2 separate regions of the Homo sapiens genome follow, and region 2 is linked to region 1. Evidence: promoter capture Hi-C in 16 types of primary human blood cells and fetal thymus (Javierre and others, 2016). All regions are on one chromosome and are shown on one strand. The core of a region is centred on a gene start or on the middle of the fragment in contact, and the rest is flanking DNA. Distances in the headings are between cores, read along the strand shown.

What was found. Contacts are between HindIII fragments. The CHiCAGO score rates a contact against its expected background, and 5 or more counts as called.
Region 2: a contact is called between the fragment with the promoter of CAMTA1-AS3 here and the fragment with the promoter of CAMTA1-AS2 in region 1, in 7 of 17 cell types (M1 macrophages, total B cells, neutrophils and 4 more). The highest score is 11.9, in M1 macrophages.

What each region holds. Positions count from the first base shown.
Region 1 is chr1:7,388,085-7,392,087 of GRCh38, reverse strand. It overlaps CAMTA1-AS2 (CAMTA1 antisense RNA 2), which reads left to right and starts at 2,334. Exons shown (of 3, transcript NR_146199.1): 1 at 2,334-2,429; 2 at 2,649-2,748. All of the region lies in intron 5 of CAMTA1 (calmodulin binding transcription activator 1), which reads right to left. RefSeq lists an enhancer at 3,422-3,959. The HindIII fragment of the contact is 18,859 bases long and covers 1-4,003 here.
Region 2 is chr1:7,012,651-7,016,653 of GRCh38, reverse strand. CAMTA1-AS3 (CAMTA1 antisense RNA 3) reads left to right here and starts at 2,375. Exons shown (of 2, transcript NR_182292.1): 1 at 2,375-2,403. The region is part of intron 3 of CAMTA1 (calmodulin binding transcription activator 1); the gene reads right to left. The HindIII fragment of the contact is 7,421 bases long and covers 1-4,003 here.

The DNA of each region.
Region 1 (4,003 bases), core at 1,085-3,584:
ACACAGTTGGGTAGTTTCTCATTAAGTTAAACAGATTTACTATACGACCTGGCAATCTTACCTCTATATATTTTCCCAAGAGAAATAAAAATGTATGATGACACCAAAACCTGTATGCAAATGTGTAGAGTCCTTGGCATGTAATGTCAACTGGAAACAGCCCAGACATCCTTCAATAGGTGAATGGTTAAACAAATTGCTGTATATCCACACCATGGAACACCACTCACCCATAAAAAGGAAGGAAGTACTGATACATGCAACTACATGGATAAATCTCAGGATCATTATGTCTGGCGAAAGAAGCCAGACTCAAAAGGCCACATCCTGTATGATTTCATTTATATGACATTCTGGAAAAGGCAATGCTATAGGGACTGAAAACAGGCCATTCATTCCCAGAGGCTGGAGTACGCCGAGCAGCTTATCTGACAAAGAGGTGCAGTGAGTTTTTGAGCTGATAGAAACCATCTCCATATTGATTGTGGTGGTGATCACTGGACCAAGCTGATGGAAACCACATACATTTGCCAAAGCTCTCAGAATGGCCACAGAAAGTCGGAATTTTTACCATATGTTAATTGTATCTCCAGAAGTGCGGGACACCAAGCGCCCCTTAGCCATATGACCTGGGCCAAATGATTTAATCCGTCTGAGCAGCAGCTTCCTAATCTATAAAAAGGGGATGACAATAAAACCCACAGACTTTGAAGGATCAGCTGAAGATGTACACACACACACACACACACACACACACACTGTGTAAAGGGATGCATAAAACATCCAGATACAGCCGGGTGTGGTAGCTCATGCCTGTAATCCCAGCACTTTGGGAGGCCGAGGTGGGCAGATCACCTGAGGTCAGGAGTTGGAGACCAGCCTGACCAACATGGAGAAACCCCATCTCTACTAAAAATACAAAATTAGCCCAGCATGGTGGCACATGCCTGTAATCCCGGCTACTCGGGAGGCTGAGGCAGGAGAATCACTTGAACCTGGGAGGTGGGGGTTGCGGTGAGCCGAGATCGCGTCACTGCACTCCAGCCCGGGCAACAAGAGCAAAACTCCATAAAAAAAAAAACAACAACCCAGATTCTCGGAGCACTAAAACCTGTCCCCAGTCCCAGGAACCAGCTGGATGCACCACTCAGCCACTCCAACGGAGGCGAGGCCTCCTTCTCATGAAAGTGTAGAAATGGCCATCTTGAGAGAAATGGCTAAACAAGTCCAGCCCCCAGTGCTTGGTGTGGAGTCACGTCACCCTGGCACACCTGGCGGGCGGTGCAGAGCACAGGCTCTCAATGGCAGCCAGTGAGGGCACCAGGGCTGCAAGCCCCGTAGGAATGCATGTGGGGGAGAGGTGCTCTTTTTCTTTGCAGAGTGGAGCAGATTCATTTACACCCATGAGGCTTTCTTTGGTACTGAGTGCTTTCTGTAGGGTGGGGTCCCTTCCAGGAACTTTTCACAGCCTGGGTGTCTGAACAGCAACCCTACTGCCACAGGCACTACTAGCGACCCTGTTGTAGACAGGAGGAAACTGAGGCCCAGAGAGCAGAACTCACTTGCAGGGGCTCAGGAGTAGTAAGCAGCAGGGCCAATCCTGGGCCGTGCACTGGTACTGGCGTTGGCAGTGGGATCTGCGGGCTCCTTTGGGGACATGTCAGACAAGTAATGGCATCCATCACAAGGGTCCAGATAGAGCTCTGAGGGGAGGCTGGTCTGAGGCCCAGGGCCAAGGCACCCACCTGGAATGAGCCTGAGGACAGCAGGTCCCTGAGCTGTGTCAGATGCTTAGAGAAGGCAGGCACCCTGGGCGGGTTGTGTCACCCTCTTGCTCTGGCCCTGTGAACCCTAAGCTCGCTTTGCTTAAGAGAGGGAGGCTTGGCAGCTCCTAGAGGCCCAGGCCCTGGCTGAATTTCTCCAGGGTCCTCAGAGGGTGGGGAAGTGACTGGGCAGAAGTGGGAAGGAACCAGCCCTGCGCCGTCGCCCGGGCTCTTGGCTCCTGCACCCAGAGCCGTCCGGCAGGGAAGCGGCAGGTAAAGATGAATCAGTGATTCAGGGCTGCAGGCCAGGCACCAGGCCAGGCTGTAAAAGTTATTGTGCAGCATCACAATGGAAGGCGGGGGACACAAATAGCATCCGAGGGAAACTAGTGGCCCTGACTTGGAAAGCAAACCTCTCTGCAGCCACGGGACCCCCAACAGCAGCCTCACAGAGCCTGCCCCGGCCACCCTAGTCTGGGCTAACTGTCCTGCCTTCTCCTCCAAGATTCCCTTGCCTGGGTCCCTCCTCCCTCGGCCTCACCACACTCCTCTGGGGACCCTGTGCTTGGACTCCACCCTTTCCTGTCCAGACCACTGTGAAGGCCTTTAGTCACCTCCTAGAGAAGCAAGATTTTCAGCCCTGGCTTTCTACCCCCACACCCTACAGTAAGTAAGATAAATTACCCACCCACCACCTGCCCCCACTTCTCTCCACGGAGCCTCGTTCGGCCTGTGGCCACTCATGTCTGTTTCTAAGGGAACAGTCAAGGGCAAATCAGTGGAGAAGCTGGCCTGTGCTGGCAGGGGTGCTGCAATGGGGCTGTGCCCCTGCCTTCCTGCACTTCCTGCCAGGGAGCCACTCCATTCTTTTTTGCCATCTCCCAGGCCGGCCAGGGGACAGGGTCGTGTTCACACAGTGCTAAGGGAACACGCTGACGTGTGTGACATCAAGAACTCCAGTGCCCACACAGCCCGAGTCCGGATGGTGAGCTCCAGGGAGACCCAGCAGGGCTGCAGGGGGAGCACTGACTGAGCCCATGGGGGAAAGAGGCTCCTGCCGAGCCCAGAGCCCAGAGAGCTGGCCAAGGGGTAGGGTTAGGAGGGATGGAGCTGGGGGCAACAGGCTAGAGAAGAGACAGCTGGGGGTGGGAGGATCTCTCCAGGGTCGTCTCACAGCACCCAGCGGACTCGCTCTGTGCTGCTGCAGAGTGACTCTGACAGTCAGAGCCAGGCAGCCGGGGACAGGCACAGAGCCAGACTCCCTTCCTCCTCCCCCTCCCTCTCGCCGTGCAGTGCCTACTCAGTGCTGGGAGGCTCTGAATGGCACGGGGATGGAGAGTGTAACAACAGAGCGTTAGGGCCCTGCCCCAGTCCGGCAGGAAGCTCGGTCTGGTGGGGAGACCAGCCCAGGCAGACACAGCAGTGCATGCACTGGGCACACCCTGGCTCTGGCTGGAGGGCTCAGAGGCCTCAGGGCCTTCCAGCACTGGTCTCCGTGTCTGAACCCCCCATGGGACAGGATGGGAGCTGCCAGCAGAACCAACAACTCAGTTCCTGGTAACTCCAAGTGGAGATGGGCAGGAACGCTCCCAGGAGGCGCATCAGCAGTCAGAACCAGGGGCTTGGGCCTCAGGAAGGCAGGCTGCTGGCCAGGCCCCCTGGACTCAGGAGACCAAGGCCAGGACGTTCACCAGGGCCAAAGAGAGCAACACCAACAGGGCTGGGCTCCAAGGCCGGGCCGCCTCCCCTCTAGCTTCCCAACACCAGTCCTCCCTGAACATTTCCTTCCAGGAAGACAGGGGCTATTAACTACGTCCCATCCGATTCACAGGGACGTTTGAAATCAGGAAGGAGTGTGGGTTGGATCCACGTTTCTGTTCATACCAGGCAGGCACATCGGAAGGCTCACGGTCAGAGGATGCTGGGACAAACGCCACGAGAGGTTCCTTTTTGTCTGGCTCACCCAGAAGAGAGGCTCCTCTCCTCCCTTCCCTGCAGCACAACGGCCTGGCTGGCACCCAAAGGGCAGCCGGCATGGGCTGACCTCAGAGGAGCAAGGCGTGTTTGCAGCTCTGCCGCTCACATCCACAGTGGCCATGACAACAGGTGCAGCACCATCCATTAAAGCCCTGTGTCATTTCACTTAATTCTCACAACGACCCCCGGAGAAAGGGACTACTATCCCCATTTTCCAGATGAAAAAGGAAATTGGTCCTTAGAGTGATCATCCACCCAAGGCT
Region 2 (4,003 bases), core at 1,126-3,625, 380 kb after region 1:
CCATGTTAGCCAGGCTGGTCTTGAATCCCTGACCTCAAGTGATCTACCTGCCTTGGCTTCCCCAAGTGCTGGGATTACAGGCATGAGCCACCACGCCCAGCATGAATCATTTTTAATTCAGGAAATTAAGGGTTATGTTTACTGGAGATTTTTTAGGATATAGGAAATACAAAATTCTGTAAAATTAATTTCCCCTTCCTGTTACCCATTGTGGTCCATTCATTCACCCATTCGACAGCTGAGCACCTACTGTTTGCAGAGCATTTGAAAGGTTATAAAAATGAACCACATGCTGCCCTTGCCTCCCTGCATCTAGTGACATAGGACATGCACACAATGAGGCAAAATTCACCAAGAGAACATGTGGATAAGACAGGACGCGTACCCAGCCACTGAAAGGAACCAACTGTTGACACATACACCAACTCAGACGGCTCTCACGGGTGTCAGGCTGAGGGAAAGAAGCCAGCCTGCATCTGACATTCTCAAAAAGACCAACCCATGGTGGCAGAGCAGAGATGAGTGATTTCGGGGGGTTAGGATGGGGCAGGGTGTGGCTGCATGACATGGTTTGGCTCTGTGTCCCACCCAAATCTCATGTCAAACTGTAATCCCCAATGTTGGAGGAAGAGCCTGGGGGAGGTGACTGAATCATAGGGGAGGATTCCCTCTTGCTGTTCTCATGATAGTGAGTTCTCAGGAGATCCGGCTGTTTGAAGGTGTGCAGCACCTGTCCCTTCACCCTCTTCCTCCTGCTCCAGCCATGCAGGACATGCCTGCTTCCCCTTCGCCTTCTGCCATGATTGTAAGTTTCCTGAGGCCTCCTCAGCCATGCAGGACATGCCTGCTTCCCCTTTGCCTTCCGCCACGATCCTAAGTTTCCTGAGGCCTCCCCAGCCACGCTTCCTGTACAGCCTGCAGAAATGTGAGCCAATTAAACCTTTTTTCTATATAAATTGCCCAGTCTCAGGTAGTTCTTTATAGCAATGCGAAAACAGACGAATACACTGCAGGATGTGGTGGAGCTGCCCTGTCCCTTACTTGTGGCAGTGCTAACATGGGTTAAAAGTCATGGAACGGCACAGCCCCAAAAACGTCAATTTAACTGTAAGATCATTTTTAAAATAAAATTTTTTAAACTGAAAAAAATGTCAACACTATGTGCATTCAGAGGAGAGGCAGGCTGGGCAGGCTAAGTTTAGCTGCAGCCTCACCGGAAGACATCTGACCAGACCCTGAAGACACACAGGACCTGGACAGGGGGAAGAGCAGAACATTCCAGAAAATGTGAACCGTGAGGGTGGACAGTGGGAACATGCCACAGACACTGGAAGCGGTGAGTCTGTCTGGCTCAGTGAGGAATAGAGTCAGGGGAGCAGGGGACAACGTAGGAAATCCGGTCATTAGCGCCTCCCACTCAACTGATCCCACTCGGTCCAACAACACAGTCACCATGGAGGGAGGCCCATGCAGCTCACCAGGACAGCAGGTGAGAAGAACCTCTTTGAGGACTGGAGGTCTTGAAAATTCCAAGACATCCGTCCATCCAGCAAACCAGGGCAGCACAGGGAATGGAAACTTACAAATCCCTAGCATCTGTTCTGAGAAAGAATTCTATCCTGTAATTTTCAAAATTTCTTGACTTGGAATAATAGGATCAGAGGCTCTCAGAGTTGGAGGACAATGTACAGATCATTTAGCTTGTGGTTTTTGAGTCAGGGAATGTGAAAGAAGCTCTTCCTCCAAAAAAAGACACACAGAGCCCCAATTATACAAACAACTCCAGGCATTCATCAGAAACCCACTGATGCCACCACCCGCTCCCCCACCCGGCCCCCGACATGCTGCAGGGTCTGAGAGGGTCCACAGACCCCGAAAGGTAGCTCAGAATGTGTAACCTCTAGACTGGCCCCCTCGGCTGAGTCCCACCTCTTACGAGGAGCCTGGTCATGATACCCGAGAGGAGAGGCTTCCTTTTTGAAACCAAGCCAAGCGTTGGGTTATGAGAAACAATTCCAGACTCCGTGTTAAGGGACCAAGCTCGCACGCTGTTTTGCTGCCTTAAAACAGAAGCTCGGCCATTGCTCCCTATACTTGGGCTGGGCTTTAGTTACAGAAAGGCCTCAGTCCCTGCAGCCATTCGCCTCACCATGCCCTGTCTAATGGGGCAGGCTGGGGCAGGGAGCAAAAAGGAGTTCACCTTTGTAGTGGGCGCTGGGATCCCCAGGAAGAAGGAGCCAGTCTCCAGCTTGTTCACGGTTGACCAACTCTCCAACCCCCTCAGGACTCCTGGGCTGTTTATAGCCTCACACCCCAAACACAAACTGTTGTTTGCAGCTTTTGCAGGGCCTAACCCAAGGCTCGGCTTCAACTCAGGTTTCCCTATGTGCAGACATCGAGCAGGTAAGAGACCGGCCTGCCTCTGGATGGGGTTTGAAGAACAAGAGCCAGACAGGGTACCCCAAACCCAGGCTGTGGCTTCTGCCACGGCTGAGGGCACCCTCTGAGGCACACAGCCCTGCCCAGGCGCTGCCCCAGCCAGCCGGTCCCCTTGGCAGAGCAAGCCCTTCAGAACCGCACTCGACAGGTTCCCTATCTCCCACATGGACTGGTCTATTTTAAGAACTGTATTTTTAGGACAAGCAAATGTGCTGGGCTTCCATGTTCCAAGATCACGGCCTTGCCTCTGGCAGCAGGTCCACTGCCAAGCTCCTTGTCTCTGACTTTGGAGGAGGCTCTCAGCTGGCTGCTTGTCGTTGGGGTTGAAGAAGAGGAGTCACAAGGAAGCCGAGCATTATGGGATAGTTTGAGGCCTTGAGGAGTGGAGGCAAGACAGGAAGGGAAGTTCCGCCAGCTCCCAGAAGTTGAGAATTGCAAAAGTATCCTTGCCCTCCTCACCAAGAACACAATGTAGAACCAGCAGATCACAGAGGGGCTTGTCCACACCAGGGGGGCGGTGAGTCCAGCACTCCAAAGTTCAACTCCTGGCTCCATCCCTGACTCCACCTCTGCCACCTGCAGCCAGGAACAGTGCACAGCTGAGCCACACTCTGCTTACCTAAGCACTGAGGACGGCCAGGCCTGATCTTAGCAGAATGGCTCTGGCTTCCGGGTTGAGAAAAGACTCAAGAAGGACAAAGGGGCCAGGTGTGGTGGCTCACGCCTGTAATCCCAGCACTTTGAGAGACTGAAGTGGGTGGATCACTTGAGACCAGGAGTTCAAGACCAGCCTGGTCAACATGGCGAAACCCCATCTGTACTAAAAATACAAAAATTAGCCGGGCATGGTGGTACACTTCTGTAATCCCTACTCAGGAGGCTAAGGCATGAGAATCTCGAACCTGGGAGGCAGAGGTTGCAGTGAGATAACACCGTGCCACTGCACTCCAGCCTGAGCAACAGGCTGGCGAGACTCTATCTCAAAAAAAAAAAAAAAAAAAAAAAGAAGAAGGGCAAAGGCAGGGCCTGGAGAATGGTAGAAGGGTCTGCAACTTCCCCAGCGAGAAGTGCTGGCACGGAGGAGGTGCGGCACAAGGCAATGAGGGACGAGTGTGTTTTGAAGTCACGGCCACAGGGTTTGTTGAAGGTCTGGACGTGTGGAGACGAGAGAGGGGACTCAGGGATGATCCCAAGGCTTTTGGCCCAAGACACTAGCAGGATGAAGTTGGCATTACTGGGAAGCAGCAGCCAGATCAGATGTGGGGAGAGATTACAGACACTCAGGTTCTATACCCGAGACAAGTGGAGGTTCCCGAGAAGCAGCTGGACGGTGAGTTGGGAGCTCAGACGGGAAGTCCAGCCCGCAGGCACATGGCGGGAAGCTACATTTAGAGATGTGAGTCTGCACACAAGTGGCAGACAGGGAATCCAAGGACAGAGCCCAGGAGCAAGACAGAATTCAGAGTGGGGGGAAACTGAGGAAGAGAAAGGGCAGCCCCAGTGGTGAGAGGAAAGGAAGCCAGTGTGAGGTGGCACGAAGGGAAGGAAGTGCGTCACAGAGAGG